Linked DNA regions of Homo sapiens: all the other regions are linked to region 1. Evidence: promoter capture Hi-C in 16 types of primary human blood cells and fetal thymus (Javierre and others, 2016). All regions are on one chromosome and are shown on one strand. Each heading gives the region's core, a stretch centred on a gene start or on the middle of the fragment in contact. The rest is flanking DNA. Distances are from core to core; before and after follow the strand shown. Region 1 holds the start of DHX9 (DExH-box helicase 9). Region 2 has its middle 7.9 kb from the start of PRG4. Region 3 overlaps TPR (translocated promoter region, nuclear basket protein).

The links. The method cuts DNA at HindIII sites, captures the fragments that hold promoters and counts their contacts. A CHiCAGO score of 5 or more calls a contact.
Region 2: a contact is called between a fragment that was not itself captured here and the fragment with the promoter of DHX9 in region 1, in 1 of 17 cell types (total CD4 T cells). The highest score is 5.6, in total CD4 T cells.
Region 3: a contact is called between a fragment that was not itself captured here and the fragment with the promoter of DHX9 in region 1, in 10 of 17 cell types (erythroblasts, total CD4 T cells, fetal thymus and 7 more). The highest score is 12.5, in erythroblasts.

Annotation. Positions count from the first base shown.
Region 1 is chr1:182,836,621-182,841,105 of GRCh38, forward strand. DHX9 (DExH-box helicase 9) reads left to right here and starts at 2,727. Exons shown (of 28, transcript NM_001357.5): 1 at 2,727-2,836. It overlaps DHX9-AS1 (DHX9 antisense RNA 1), which reads right to left and starts at 2,971. Exons shown (of 2, transcript NR_148933.1): 1 at 2,692-2,971; 2 at 1-1,314. RefSeq lists an enhancer at 2,352-3,193 and a silencer at 2,617-3,046. The HindIII fragment of the contact is 6,331 bases long and covers 176-4,485 here.
Region 2 is chr1:186,286,187-186,290,654 of GRCh38, forward strand. No RefSeq gene overlaps it. Among named protein-coding and RNA genes, the nearest start is that of PRG4, 7.9 kb to the right of the region's middle. The HindIII fragment of the contact is 1,742 bases long and covers 1,631-3,372 here.
Region 3 is chr1:186,361,853-186,366,068 of GRCh38, forward strand. It overlaps TPR (translocated promoter region, nuclear basket protein), which reads right to left. Exons shown (of 51, transcript NM_003292.3): 5 at 1,490-1,593; 6 at 985-1,149; 7 at 436-528; 8 at 1-17. Among named protein-coding and RNA genes, the nearest start is that of TPR, 11 kb to the right of the region's middle. The HindIII fragment of the contact is 1,578 bases long and covers 1,508-3,085 here.

The sequences.
Region 1 (4,485 bases), core at 1,477-3,976:
TCTTATTTCCCACCAAACTAAGTGAACTTTCATCAGTTATTTCTAGTCAAAAAGGTAAATGTGAAATATTAAGTAGTCCAGTTGAAGCAGACCTTTCATTATTTGATCATTGAGTGACCTATAGCCTCAGTTCCAAATTCTTAAGATAGGGACAAAGTTACCTGTTTTATAATAAAGCTTAAAAAAAAATTCCCTACCCTGCTCTGTCCCACTTGACCTCTGAAATCTCCTAGTTGGTCAGCTACCAGGAACAGGTAATGGTTGTGTTGAAATCGGCCCACTTTCCATACTTTTGGGACATGTTTTAAGGCTTCATTTGCAAATGTTAAGATCTTAGACAGTGCTAGTTGCCAAGAGCCACCTACAAAGGTAATGCCAGTCCTCGGACCCAAATCCCAGGGGACTCTAGGTCTCAGGTGCAGAGCCTAAATTAAGAACCAACTCAGTAACAAAATTCTCCTTAATCCTTGGAAGCTAAAGATCCAGCTTTGAAAAATGTATTTCCATGTAATATATTGATACTTTTGTTGTGCTCATTATATACTATAAAACACTTGCAATTCATTTATGCTAGTTGAGTCTCTTTATTTATTTACTTATTTTGAGATGGAGTCTCACTCTGTCACCCAGGCTGGAGTGCAGTGGGACGATCTGAGCTCGCTGCAACTTCTGCCCCTCCTCCCTCCAGGTTCAAGCAATTCTCCTGCCTCAGCCTCCCAAGTAGCTAGGATTACAGGCACACGCCACCTTGCCCGGCTAATTTTTGTATTTTTAGTACAGACAGGGTTTTGCCATGTTGGCCAGGCTGGTCTCAAATTCCTGACCTCAGGTGATCCACCTGCCTTGGCCTCCCAAAGTGCTGGGATTACAGGCATGAACCACCACACCTGGTCTTGTTGAGGATTCTTGCATCTATGTTCATCAGGGATACTGGCCTATAGATTTTTTTTCTTGTGTCCATATCTAGTTTTGGTATCAGGGTAATGCTGCCCTCACAGGATGAGTTTGAGAACTGGTATGAGTTCTTCTTTAACTGTTCAGTAGAATTCAGCAGTGAAGCCATCAGGGCCTGGACTTTTCTTTGATGGGAGACTCTATATTACTGATTTAATCTCATTACTCATAGTTGGTCTTTTCAGGTTTTCTATTTCTTCTTGGTCCAATTTTGGTAAGTTGTATCTGTTCAGGAATTTATCCATTTCCATTTGGTTTCCAATTTGTTGGCATATAGTTGTTCATAATAGTCTCTAATGATCCTTTGTATTTCTGTGGTATCGGTTTAATGTCTTCTAGGCCCCTGCTGCTTTCAACACCCTGAAGGGTACAAAAAAAAAAAAATTAAGGTCTTTCCTTCAATGATTTTATTCTTAATTAAGGAGAACAATCACATGAAGAAAATAATAAGTAAATGATAAACTATGTTGTTCTGATTTTAAGAATGACAGTTTTAAAGGGAGTGATCACTATCAGCTAGAAGGATTAAGAAAAACATAAGGAAAGAGGTGAAAAATAAAGATCCATAGATATAATGAGCCCAGATAATTGATTAGTCTGGATTCCCTGGAACAATCCCAGCTGGAAATGTTTTGTATCATTACCTTCATGGGACGCACTGGAGTTTCAAAATTTAACAGTGACTAGTATAATAATTAAGGACACAATTATTCCAAAGACTTGGAACACAAAATTACTCCAAAGACTTGGAACACAAAAGGTTATCCAATTTAAACAAAAGCAACCTTGCAGATTTTATTCCTACCTTAAAGTAGTTTGCTGAGCACTTACAGTAATGTTCCAGGCACGGCAAGGAGCGACCTGCGTTAGCCAGGCAGAATGCCCGCCTTCACTGAGCTTATTTCTTTCATGGTTTTTTTTTTTTTTTTTGAGACGGAGTCTCGCTCTCTCGCCCAGAAAATGGCGTGATCTCGGCCCACTGCAACCTCCGCCTCCGCCCCCGACCCCGGGGTTCAAGCGATTCTCCTGCCTCAGCCTCCCGAGTAGCTGGGATTGCAGGAGCCCGCCCAGCCACCCAAGCAGCTGGGATTGCAGGCGCCCGCCCCCATGCCCGGCTAATTTTTGTATTTTTTTTTTTTTTTTTAGTAGAAACGGGGTTTCACCACGCTGGCCAGGCTGGTCTCAAACTCCTGACCCCAAGTGATTCGCCCACCTCGGCCTCCCAAAGTGCTGGGATTACAGTCACCACGCCCGGCCAGTTTATTTCTTTCAAGAGACACTGGCGTTCAGACTATCTGAATCAATCCGGTAACTACGCCCACTGAACACCTACTACATGCCAGGTATTGAACTAAGCCGCCCTTCATATGCCATCTCATGTAATTATCTCAACAACCCTACCAAGTTAGCAGCAAGGTTTCCAGTTCTGCCTTCGAAGGGAACCTCCTCTCACCGGAGATCCCTATGACAGACCCTGCGAAATATTTTGCTGCATCAGAATGCTACAGGCCGTCAACTCCCTAACATGCGCAAAAGCGGGCAGCCGATTATCCAGGGTAGTGGATTATCCAGGAGAGTGGATTATCCAGAGTAGCAGGTCTGGCGCGATGCCCGCCCGGCTCAGCCCATCTCCCTAGCAACGAAACCCTTCCGCGCCGCGAGGTTGCTGAGCCCCGCCCCCTCCATTGGCGCGCCCTCGCCATCCCCCGCCCTGGCACGCGCTCTGCGCATGCGTACGCTCGCTGGCCCCGCCCCCTAGCGCCGCGGTCGGAGCCATTTCGCCGATTCCTCCATGCGAGTTGCTGTGCGTTTCTCTGTTGTCTCGGTAGAAGGCCAGAGTCACACACGGTCCTAAGAGCTGGGCACCAGGAAGCGAAGGCTGGTAAGGGAGAGACGTTCCGGCTACCATGCGGGGCGGCGGGGTCGCGGGCGGGCGCCGTGGACCATGGCTCCGCAGCCGGCTTTGTTGCGAAGCGCGGGCGGCGGCGGCGGCTGGGGGTGGGGGAAGGGACGAGCCGCCCGCGGGTCCCCGGATTGCGGGTTGCGTGCGCGCCTCGCCGCGATGCGCTTGCGCCGTCCGGGCAGCCTGTGGCCCCCTCCCCTCTCCTCCGCCCAGCGTTTCCCGCTGCTGCCTCTAGCAGGCAAAGCGCGCTTCCTCCTCTGGCCTGCGTACGCCGGGGCACCGCGGCGGCTGAGGGAAGGGGGTGCTTCGCCTGTGGTGGTTGCCGCCGGGGCGCCACTGGCCTAGGGCTCTTCATTCATTCAAGCCACGAATAACTGGCGCCGTCGTGCAGGCCTTGTGGGTAGAGGAAAAAAAATTGAAGAATGTAAAGGGAGAGCGCCTTTGGCTAGTATAGCGAGGTAAGGCGTCTCGAAGGAGGGAGGCTTTGAGCTGATAACCTCGGCCAACGCGAAGGAAAAGCAGAGCCTGCAGAAGCGGAAGGGATTAGTTATCGCTTAAGGGCAGAAACTGGGCGGGAGCTGAAAGCAGGCCATGTGACTGGAGTGTGGCGAGAAGGCCTTCAAAGGAGAATGGGTTTTAGGGTGGCAAGAGTGGAAACAAAAACCGTGTAGGACAATATTTCACTAGCCCGGGTGTGCAGTAGTGGTGGCAGGAGAGATGGGGAGAAACGAATGGATAGGGGACGTATTTTGAAGCAGAAATGCGTAGTGGTGGAAGGTAGTAGATCTGGAGTCAGGCTACGTTTTCTGGAATTCTTGCGCCTTTTTTTTTTTTTTTTTTTTTGCAAGAGTCTCGCTCTGTCGCCAGACTGGAGTGCAGTGGCGCGATGGCGGCTCACAGCAACGTCGGTCTCCCGGGTTCAAGTGATTCTCCTGCCTCAGCCTCCGGAGTAGCTGGGACTACAGGCGCGCGCCACCACGCCCAGCTAATTTTTGTATTTTTAGTAGAGACGGGGTTTCATCATGTTGGCCAGGATGGTCTCGATCTCTCGACCTCGTGATCCGCCTGCCTTGGCCTACCAAAGTGCTGGGATTACAGGCGTGAGCCTCCGCGCCCGCCCGAATTCTTGCTCTTATAATTAGGAGCTCTGTCTTCCTGAAGCAAGATATTCTTTGTCTCAGTTTCCCCTTCTCTAAAGGGATAGTGATCTTACCTGTACAAGGTTACTAAGGATTAAGTAAAATAGTTCCATTTAGATGATCTATTATGGATATTGTTTGACACACATTAAGGGTTCTACAAGGGATAGCTATGGAGAATCTTAAGGGAGTGGACGACTCTCAACTTGTGCCAGGAGTAACTTGGTGGATGTCGTACCGTTTATGGAAACCGAAATGTAGGGGTAGGGTGTTGGAACAGATTTGAGGGGAAATTTAAAATTCTGTTTTGACTGAGATGCCAAGTTAGCATGCAAATGGGTGAGTTAGTGCCACAGTTGGATGAACTTAATTTTGGACTTTAAAGAGAAACGACGGGCGGGCGCGGTGGCTGACGCCTGTAATCCAGCACTTCGGGAGGTTGAGGCGGGCCGATCAAGAGGTCAGGAGATCAAGACCATCCTGGCCAAC
Region 2 (4,468 bases), core at 1,252-3,751, 3.4 Mb after region 1:
GAAGTTTTAGAACTGACGTGATTAGCCAGCTGTTCCTCCTAAGCTGGAAGGGTGGCCCTTGCAGGGTGTCGGATTGAACGTCTTGTAGATGGCGCGCCACCTGGTCAGGCCTTGGTGTGTGCTCACTTCCTTGTCCTGTACCCTTTGGTCCCATTTCTATCCCAAGGTAACTACCAGATTTAACATTTCCATTCATGACTGTTAATCCTGGACTATAAAAGGGGCGGGATTGTCCCCTTTACTCCAACCTGCCACCCTGGGGAGGAATTGCCTTCCTAGATCCAAGTCTCCGAGTGCTGATTCCTTCTTTCCTTCCTTAATCCTCCCTCACCGATCTTTCCTTTTTCTTCTGTTCTACAATTCCTTGTTGGTACTTTCCTTCTAAAGCTAAGAGTTCTGGAATTGGCTGCTTTTAGGCAAAATATACATTTCTACAGGTATTTTTCTGAGATTCTCCTTAGGGTTCCCCCATATAATTTCCATACTCCCACTGTCTTTGGTTTTAGTAGGATTTGGTCAATAACCTCACATAGGTTGGTCAGTCCGCCAGACTCCTAGGGCGAGCCCATCAGGTTGTTACAGCACGGTCAGCAACAGCTGCAAATAATTAGCACTCACAACTTCTATAAAGAAATCTTCCGAAGGAGGGAATGGGTTGGTGGGTTGCCAGTGGCAGGAAGCCTGGACTAGCCATTAGGTCACTCGATTAGTCTTTGATTCATAGGTTTGCTTCCTGTAAGAGGCTTGAAAAAATCAGTGTTGAGCCTAACTTTCCTTGATGCAATAAAGCAGAAAAGAGATGTCCAGGTGAAATTCTAGGAGCAAAGGGAGAGGGAGAGTGGCTCAAGTCAGAAGATAGAAATTGACCTTTTACTTAAAAGTTGTTGTGCTTTGTTGACTAATTTCCCATCAGTGAGTCACTCCGGCCATTAGATGTTATTCCAGTTTATAACAGCGCATCACTTATAAGAATCACCATCAAGGAAGGAAGAACTGGCTATAATCCATGAACAACAAATAGCCATCTTCATCTTTTTTCCCCTTGTAAACAGCTTTCCTATATTTTAAAACTTTCACTTGCTGTTAGAATTGTTTTCTTTATATTATGCCTAAATATTGCTTTATTCAATGACAAAGCAAAATATAAGCAAAAAACCAAATGCTATCTCTCCTGTCCTTAGATACCTCAACCCAGCATTCTAGAATTGCCTCATGGGACAGACCAAGAATCAGCCCAGACAGATTGCACCTGACAGAGGCCCTGGAGAGATGGCAGGGATCTGCCCCATAGGCCTCCGTGTCAGTTTCCCAGTCAGAGATGTTCTGTCAACTGTCAAACATTTTGATTACCTCCGGTTATTCCTTAATTTATTAGGGACACTTATACTTTCAGCCCATACCCTCCTTGTGACTGTCAGCCTCTGAAAGCAGCTCTGACAATATTCCTGTTTCTATATTTTACACATAAGATGTAATGTCATTATTTAGTATCCTTAGCGATAAAGGATTAGAGTCACCCATATGTAGTTTCTAGTTTTGCCCAGTGTCAATCATGACCCAATATGCATATAGCAAAAAGAATCTTCTTTTTAATTTCTATAACCACCATAACAAAGCCATTGAAATCAAAAGCTTTTGTAAATTTATAGGATTTACTAAAGATTGTGTAAAGAACAGGGAAAGGAGTTATATTTCACACCACACAGCACATATCTTAATAAATCTCCATTGCTGTTTACCTAAGTTCCCTCTTCAGGCTTACCATCATTCTATCCAAGATCCCTTCCTCCCTCTCTCTCCTTTCCTTCCAGCCCACCACTCCCTCCCTCTGCTTCCTGCTACCTTTCTTTATTGTGCAGAATCTCTGGGTGCTGGCCACCTTCTACTTAACTGAGAAATTATTAAAATCTTGTTTCACTAAAATCAGTCTTTCTCTTGAAAGGCAAGATGAGGGCAAAATGAATTGTTGCTTTCAAAAAAATAACATTTTATCTAGATCATTACATTGCGTAATACATAGTTTCTTTACTTTCCTGTGTTAAACTAATTTTTTAGATCCAAAAGCAGAACCACAAAGTAGTTCAATTGATTTCCAAAACACCTTAGACAATCCCAATTATAGTCTTACATCAATATAAATTACTCTACTTTTTTCCTTTCTGACATTCCTGCCTGCCTCTACCAGGTATAAGATAGTTGGTTATGTGCAAGCTGTGTCATCTATTTACATCACGACTTATTTTTTTTGGCCTTTCATTTATCTTCTCCTTAAGGCCTCCACATTCCTCTTCTGCAAGAAGCATGGAAGAGATAAAGGGTGTTGGGAAAAAAATTAGTTTTTGGCTACTCTCCTAAACTTTGACCTCCTGTGTTCTTCTGCTAGCATTCATATCTATAGCAATGTGCTTTAAGATTAAAAAAACAAACTAGAGGGCCAGGTGCGGTGAACCCACGCCTGTGATCCCAGCACTTTGGGAGGCCTAGACGGGCGAATCACGAGGTCTCCTGACCATCCCGGATAACACGGTGAAACCCTGTCTCTACTAAAAATACAAAAAATTAGCCGGGCGTGGTGGCGGGCGCCTGTAGTCCCAGCTACTCGGGAGGCTGAGGCAGGAGAATGGCTTGAACCCGGGAGGCGGAGCTTGCAGTGAGCCGAGATGGCGCCACTGCTCTCCAGCCTGGGAGACAGAGCGAGACTCTGTCTCGAAAAAAAAAAAAAAAAACAGAAAAAACGATCAAAGTAAAGAGCAGTTCCTGTTTTCAGTGCTTTGGCGGGCTGATCATAACTTTTCTCAGTTCTGAGAAGTCATTTGTTTCCCAGCACTGTTTCTTACCTTGCTGGGTTTTTCAGCCTACACAGGCCACATCCATCAGTTCAGTCTCGTGCCTATTAATGCATGCTGTCCCAAAGAAGAAGCAGTATGTGTCTCTAAGCACCAAATTCATTTTTAGGAGAAAAAGAATTTTTAATGGCAATCCTACAGTTTCATTAAATTCAATCTGATATATTATCAAACACTTATGTGCCAAGTCCTCTACTAAGTGCTGGGGATACAACATATCCTTGCCTTTGATGAATTTACAATCTAAACTGCAAGATAATTTGTTGATATTTATCAAGAATTATGAAGATGTTCCCACTCCTAAGAATTTATTTTAAAGGTAAAATACAATACAAGCTGCATGAAAAAAAGGAATTTATCCTTATTTTTATTTTGTTTATGTTTGTTTTGCTTTAATCAGAATAAATGTCTGGCACCTAGCTGATACTTAATAAATGTTGATGGTTTGTGGAGGTGTTGTCCAAAGCCTGGTATAGGACTCCTCAAGGCATAGCTGTGACTCTGAGTTTGCCTCTGTAAAGAACAAAGCTTTCTACTATATTACTCTGAGGAGGACTTGGAGGAACAAAGGGTCTGGTCTCTATCAGTGCCCCTCCCATAAATATTTTCTTTGCACAAACAGCAGAATACAAATAAAAGGATAAATAGGTAGCCGTTTATGCTGTGTCTGCTCTCCATCCCCTCAAGAATCTTGAGGTCTAAGTTACACATACAATGAACCCAAGTGCTTGTCAATACCAAAGCCCTTTTCCCCAGTCCAAGGGACAGGCAGAGCAAGTGCTAATATTAGCAGTGACATTTATTCGTTAATTCATTCAAGAACATTTATTGAGCTACCAGAGATATAGAGATACTCTGGAGTCTTGTTTCATAAGCAATCAACCAAAAGAAAGGAGGAAATGTTGAATTTTAATCTTCTGATTGAGTTTTCTGTATCAAGCTTAACATAAGCTCCATGGAGACAATTGTTGCAAATGTCCTGCTTCTTAATCCTTTTGATAGAAATTAGCTGCCATCACGGGGAAAGGGATTTTAAATGGATTATTATGCAATACTATGCAATCAGCCAATACTGCATTATACTCAATATCTTTAAAGAGCCTGGTGTTCCTGCTTTGGAATGACTCAATGAAATGTCTTCTACAATGTCTCTTGGGATACTTCCCTCTTATCCCACCTATCTATGGGTCCTTCAACCACACCCAGGCTTTGCTCCCACTCTCTGAATTTCCCAATTATGAAGTATTTGTCATACTGAGTTATAGCACCCCAATTCACTTTCACTCACTCATGTTGGAAATTACTCATGTTGTTGGCTACTGGAAAATAAGTCAGTAATGTTCCTGTCTGAGCTGTCACATAGTATGCTTCCTTGACATCTGGAACCCAAGTGATGCGGACTTGAATGATCACAATACTGCAGCAATTTGGATTAGAAATCAGACATATGATGGCAAAGTGGCCGTTAGAAGAAAGACAGTAAACCTAAGTTTATCACGTATGAGAAGAAGCCATGCTAGCTGTGAAAAAGCTACAAAATGTAATCATTCTGAAATCTTAAGAAGCTTACAGCATAGTGAGAAAGATGGATATTGATAAGAGTGAGATGCCGTTTTAGAGAT
Region 3 (4,216 bases), core at 1,047-3,546, 3.5 Mb after region 1:
GCCTGTTGTTCCTTGGCCTGAAAAAAATAGCCCAATTATAGCAGTCTACTTTGAACTAAATTTAGAATGCTTATCAAATGACAAGATGAAAAATTCCATTTTTGTAAAGTAAGAGCTAAATCTAAAACACTCAAATTCAAATCAGTCTTCATGACAAAGATAAATTAAGGATAAAATATTACTAATATTTTAAATTCAAAGTAAAATAATTAAACAATAAAATTAACCCATACTCATTTTTTAGATAGTATTTTCAATATAACATATAATTGCTATTTCTGATTCTATTTTAGCCTAGCTACAGCATATGGAAGGAGGACTCTCACTGTTTTATGGGGCCAAGGACAGATTAAAAAATGACATCATTTTGTGAAATAACAGCTTCGTAAGTGCTTTAGTATTTTGTAAAAAAGACATTTTAATGGTCATATATACCTCTTTTAATTTGGTCAACAGATCCTCCACATGCTTTTGAAGATGTTCATTTGATGTTTTTAAGCCATTCATTTGTTCTTCCAGTCTAGAAACCTAAAAACAAAAAATAGAGCAGGGGGAAAGGATGTCATATTAACTGAAATTACTCTGACATGAGGTTTATGCTGCTAAGGAAAAGCTAAGTAACTCCCCCTCCCCACCTGAAAAAGCAATTAAAATATGCATATTTAAGAAAACTAAGAGTAACTGCTCACAGAACAATGTTTAGATTTAGCTCACAAAAACTTACCACCACTTCTTAAACAAACACATATTTTAGGAAAGATATATCGTAAGACAGTAGATACTAACCAGATTTGACAAAGAATCTTAAATTCTTTATGTAAACGCAATTGGTTGATTTTTTACGCCAAATGTAATGCATTATTCACATTTAACCACTCATCTTACAACTAATCAGGTACACACTACTGAATACATATTTAATAAACTGACATACAAATGTAAGTTATACTCAACATGAAGAAAAACACAATTTTACTAACTTACCTCTTCTTTTTTATTTTCAAGATTACATTTAAGCTCTAGAATCTCATTCCCTTTTTCTCTTCCAAGAGCCAGAAGTTCATCAGTTTTGGTTTTCAACTCTGTATTCAGCCATGTATTCTGACTATGTAGCAATTCCTTTTCTTGCTCCAAGCGTTTTTCTCGATACTAAAGAAATCCAAGAAAATAACACGTACAGTTAAAGATGATATATGATTATTCAAAAGATTTTGTCTGTAGCTAAGGGACACAAGCAGAATTTTATTTCAAAACAGAAATTAAGTATTTGCATAGATTCTTAACTAGAAAACATTAAGAACTGTAACAAACTTAAATTTCAAACAAGCAAAACAGATGAACTAGAATTGTCCTAATGCTTAATTTTCTGACATTAAAAACAAAACAAAATGCAGCTTTTAATTACTTTATTGCCTATATTTGAAATTTAATTTAGGTGAGTTTTAATAAAAAGCTATAGTTTATGCATTAGGAATCATCTGGTACTTGCCTTAACAGAAACATCAGAAGCTTGAAGTTCATCCAATTTTAACTGAAGTTCACCCTTTGTTGTATTGCTTTCTTTAAGTTTTTCATTCAGACGTTTAACATCCTCTAGAATGGTGAAGAGAATTAAAAAATAATAACTAATTAACACTCAGGGGAACCAAATATCAAAAATATATTTCTAGGAATATAAACCTTTAATACAAAGTATGCACAGCTGGCCCTTGAATAACACAGATTGGAACCATGCAGATTCACTTCCACTCATATTTTCTTCAATAAATATATTGGAATTTTTTCCCAAAAACTTACAATTTGAAAAACTCAGAGACCACAGACCAATCCAGGCAGCCCAGAAATGGGAACAAACTAAGAAAAAGCTACTGTAAGTGCATAATATGTACTAATATGTAGATATTAGTGTATTTTATCATTTACTACCATTAAAATATGCACAAATCCATGATACAAACTTAAAAAATTTATCAAAACTTATGCACACAAACACTACACAACCCTATCTGCAATCAAGAGAAATATAAGCAAATATAAATATGCTTTATTAAACCATAACTGCATAAAATTAACTGTAATACATACTGTATTACTGGAATACTTTCATAGCCACCTCCTGATACTACTGCAGTAAGCTCAAGTGTTTTGAGTGTCTGTATAGAATGCTGTGTGACTCTATTGTGAGCAGTTTCTCTCTTCAGTAAATTGCATAATGCAGAAAATAGTAATCTTTTGAAGTTTTTGCATATTTGTCATTGTGTTTAGTGCAATACCATAAAACTTGAAATCTTTTGAAGTTTTTGCATATTTGTCATTGTGTTTAGTACAATACCATAAACCTTGAATAACAACATGGGATCCATAAGAACTGCCACTAGTGATGTTGGAAGTACTTCTTCTAAGAAGCAGGGAAATATCACGACAATATTTTAAAGAGTTGAATTGCTTGATATGTACCACAGATTGAGGACTGCAGCGATGGTTACCCACCATTTCAAGACAAATGAATCCAGTATATGGACCGTTGTTTAAAAAAAAAAAAAGAAATAAAAAGAAAATTCGTAAAGCCATCACTGCAGCTACGCCAGCAAGCATAAAAAAGTGCATTTCTGCAAAATACCTTCCTATCTCGCATTGAAAATGCAGCTTTTATGGGGTGCAGGATTGCTATCACATACCTATAGACTCTAATATGATACGAGGTAAAGCAAAGTTATTATATGACAACTAAAAGCAAAAGGAAGGTGACAGATCTAAAGCTGGAGAATTTAATGCCAGTAAAGGATGGTTTGATAATTTTAGAAAGGTTTGACTTATAAAAATGTCAACAAAACTGAAGAAGCAGGTTCTGTCAACCAAGAAACAGCAGATGCTGCTAAGAAAATCATTGAGAAAGGTTATATGCCTGCACCAGGTTTTTAATGCAGATAGAAGTGTACTATTCTGGAAAAAACAATGCCACAAAAGATATTTATTAGTAAGAAAGAGAAGGGAGCACCAGGATTAGGGCAGGAAGGGATAGGCTAACTCTACCGTACTGAGCAAATGCAGTCAGGTTTATGATAAGGACTGCCCTTATTTATAAAGCTTTTAACCCCAGGGCCCAAAGGAAAAAGATAAACACCAGCTGCCTGTCTTCTGGTTACACAAGAAGAAGACCTGGACAATGACAGACCCCCTTCTCTGAATTGGTTCCACTCATGCTTTGTCCCTAAAGTCAGAAAGTACCTTGCTAGTAAAGGGGCTGCCCTTTTTTTTTTTTGGAGACAGTCTCGCTCTATCCCCCTAGCTGGAGTGTAGTGGCATTATCTTGGCTCACTGCAACCTCTGCCTCCCTGGTTCATGTGATTCTCATGACTCAGCCTCCTGAGTAGCTGGGATTACAGGCGCCTACCACCACGCCCAGCTAATTTTTGTATTTTTAGTAGAGATGGGGTTCTGCCATGTTGACCAGGCTAGTCTCGAACTCCTGACCTCAGGTGATCTACCTGCCTCGGCCTCCCAAAGTGCTGGGATTATAGGCATGAGCCACCGTACCTGGCCAAGGGGCTGCCTTTAAAGTTCTTTTGACTTTAGACACTGTCCCTGGCCACCCAGAACCCAGGAGTTCAACATGGAAGGTGTCAAAGCAGTCTACTTGCTCCCAAACATGTTTCTAATTCAGCCTTTAGATCAGGAGTCATAAGGACCTTTACGGCTCAATAGAGATGATACTTTGTGAAAAGAAAATGTCAACACTGTGGAAGAGAACCCCAACAGAGAAAATATCATGAAAGTTTTAAAGGATAACACACTGAAGAGGCCATCCCTTCTTTTTCATTACAGAAAAAGTTATGAAAGCCATCAAGGCTGAAATAATAAATTCCTGTTGGAGGAAACTCTCCAGATGTTGTGCATGATGTCACAAAATTTGTAACAGAGCCAATCAAAGAAATCATGAAAGAGATTGTGGATATGGCAAAAAAAGTGGGATGAAGGGTTTCAAGATACGGACCTTGGAGAAATCCAAGAGCTAATAGCCACCATATCAGATAAATTAACAGAAGATGACTGGATGGAGATGAGTGCTTCCAAACCAGTGCCAGACGATGTGGAAAAAGAATGTAGAACTAGCAGTGTCAGAAAACATATTGGTAACAGACTATCTGGTGGAAGGGTTCTGATTACCCAAGACTGCTTTTGATTTCTTTTATGACATGGATCCTTCTCTTACATG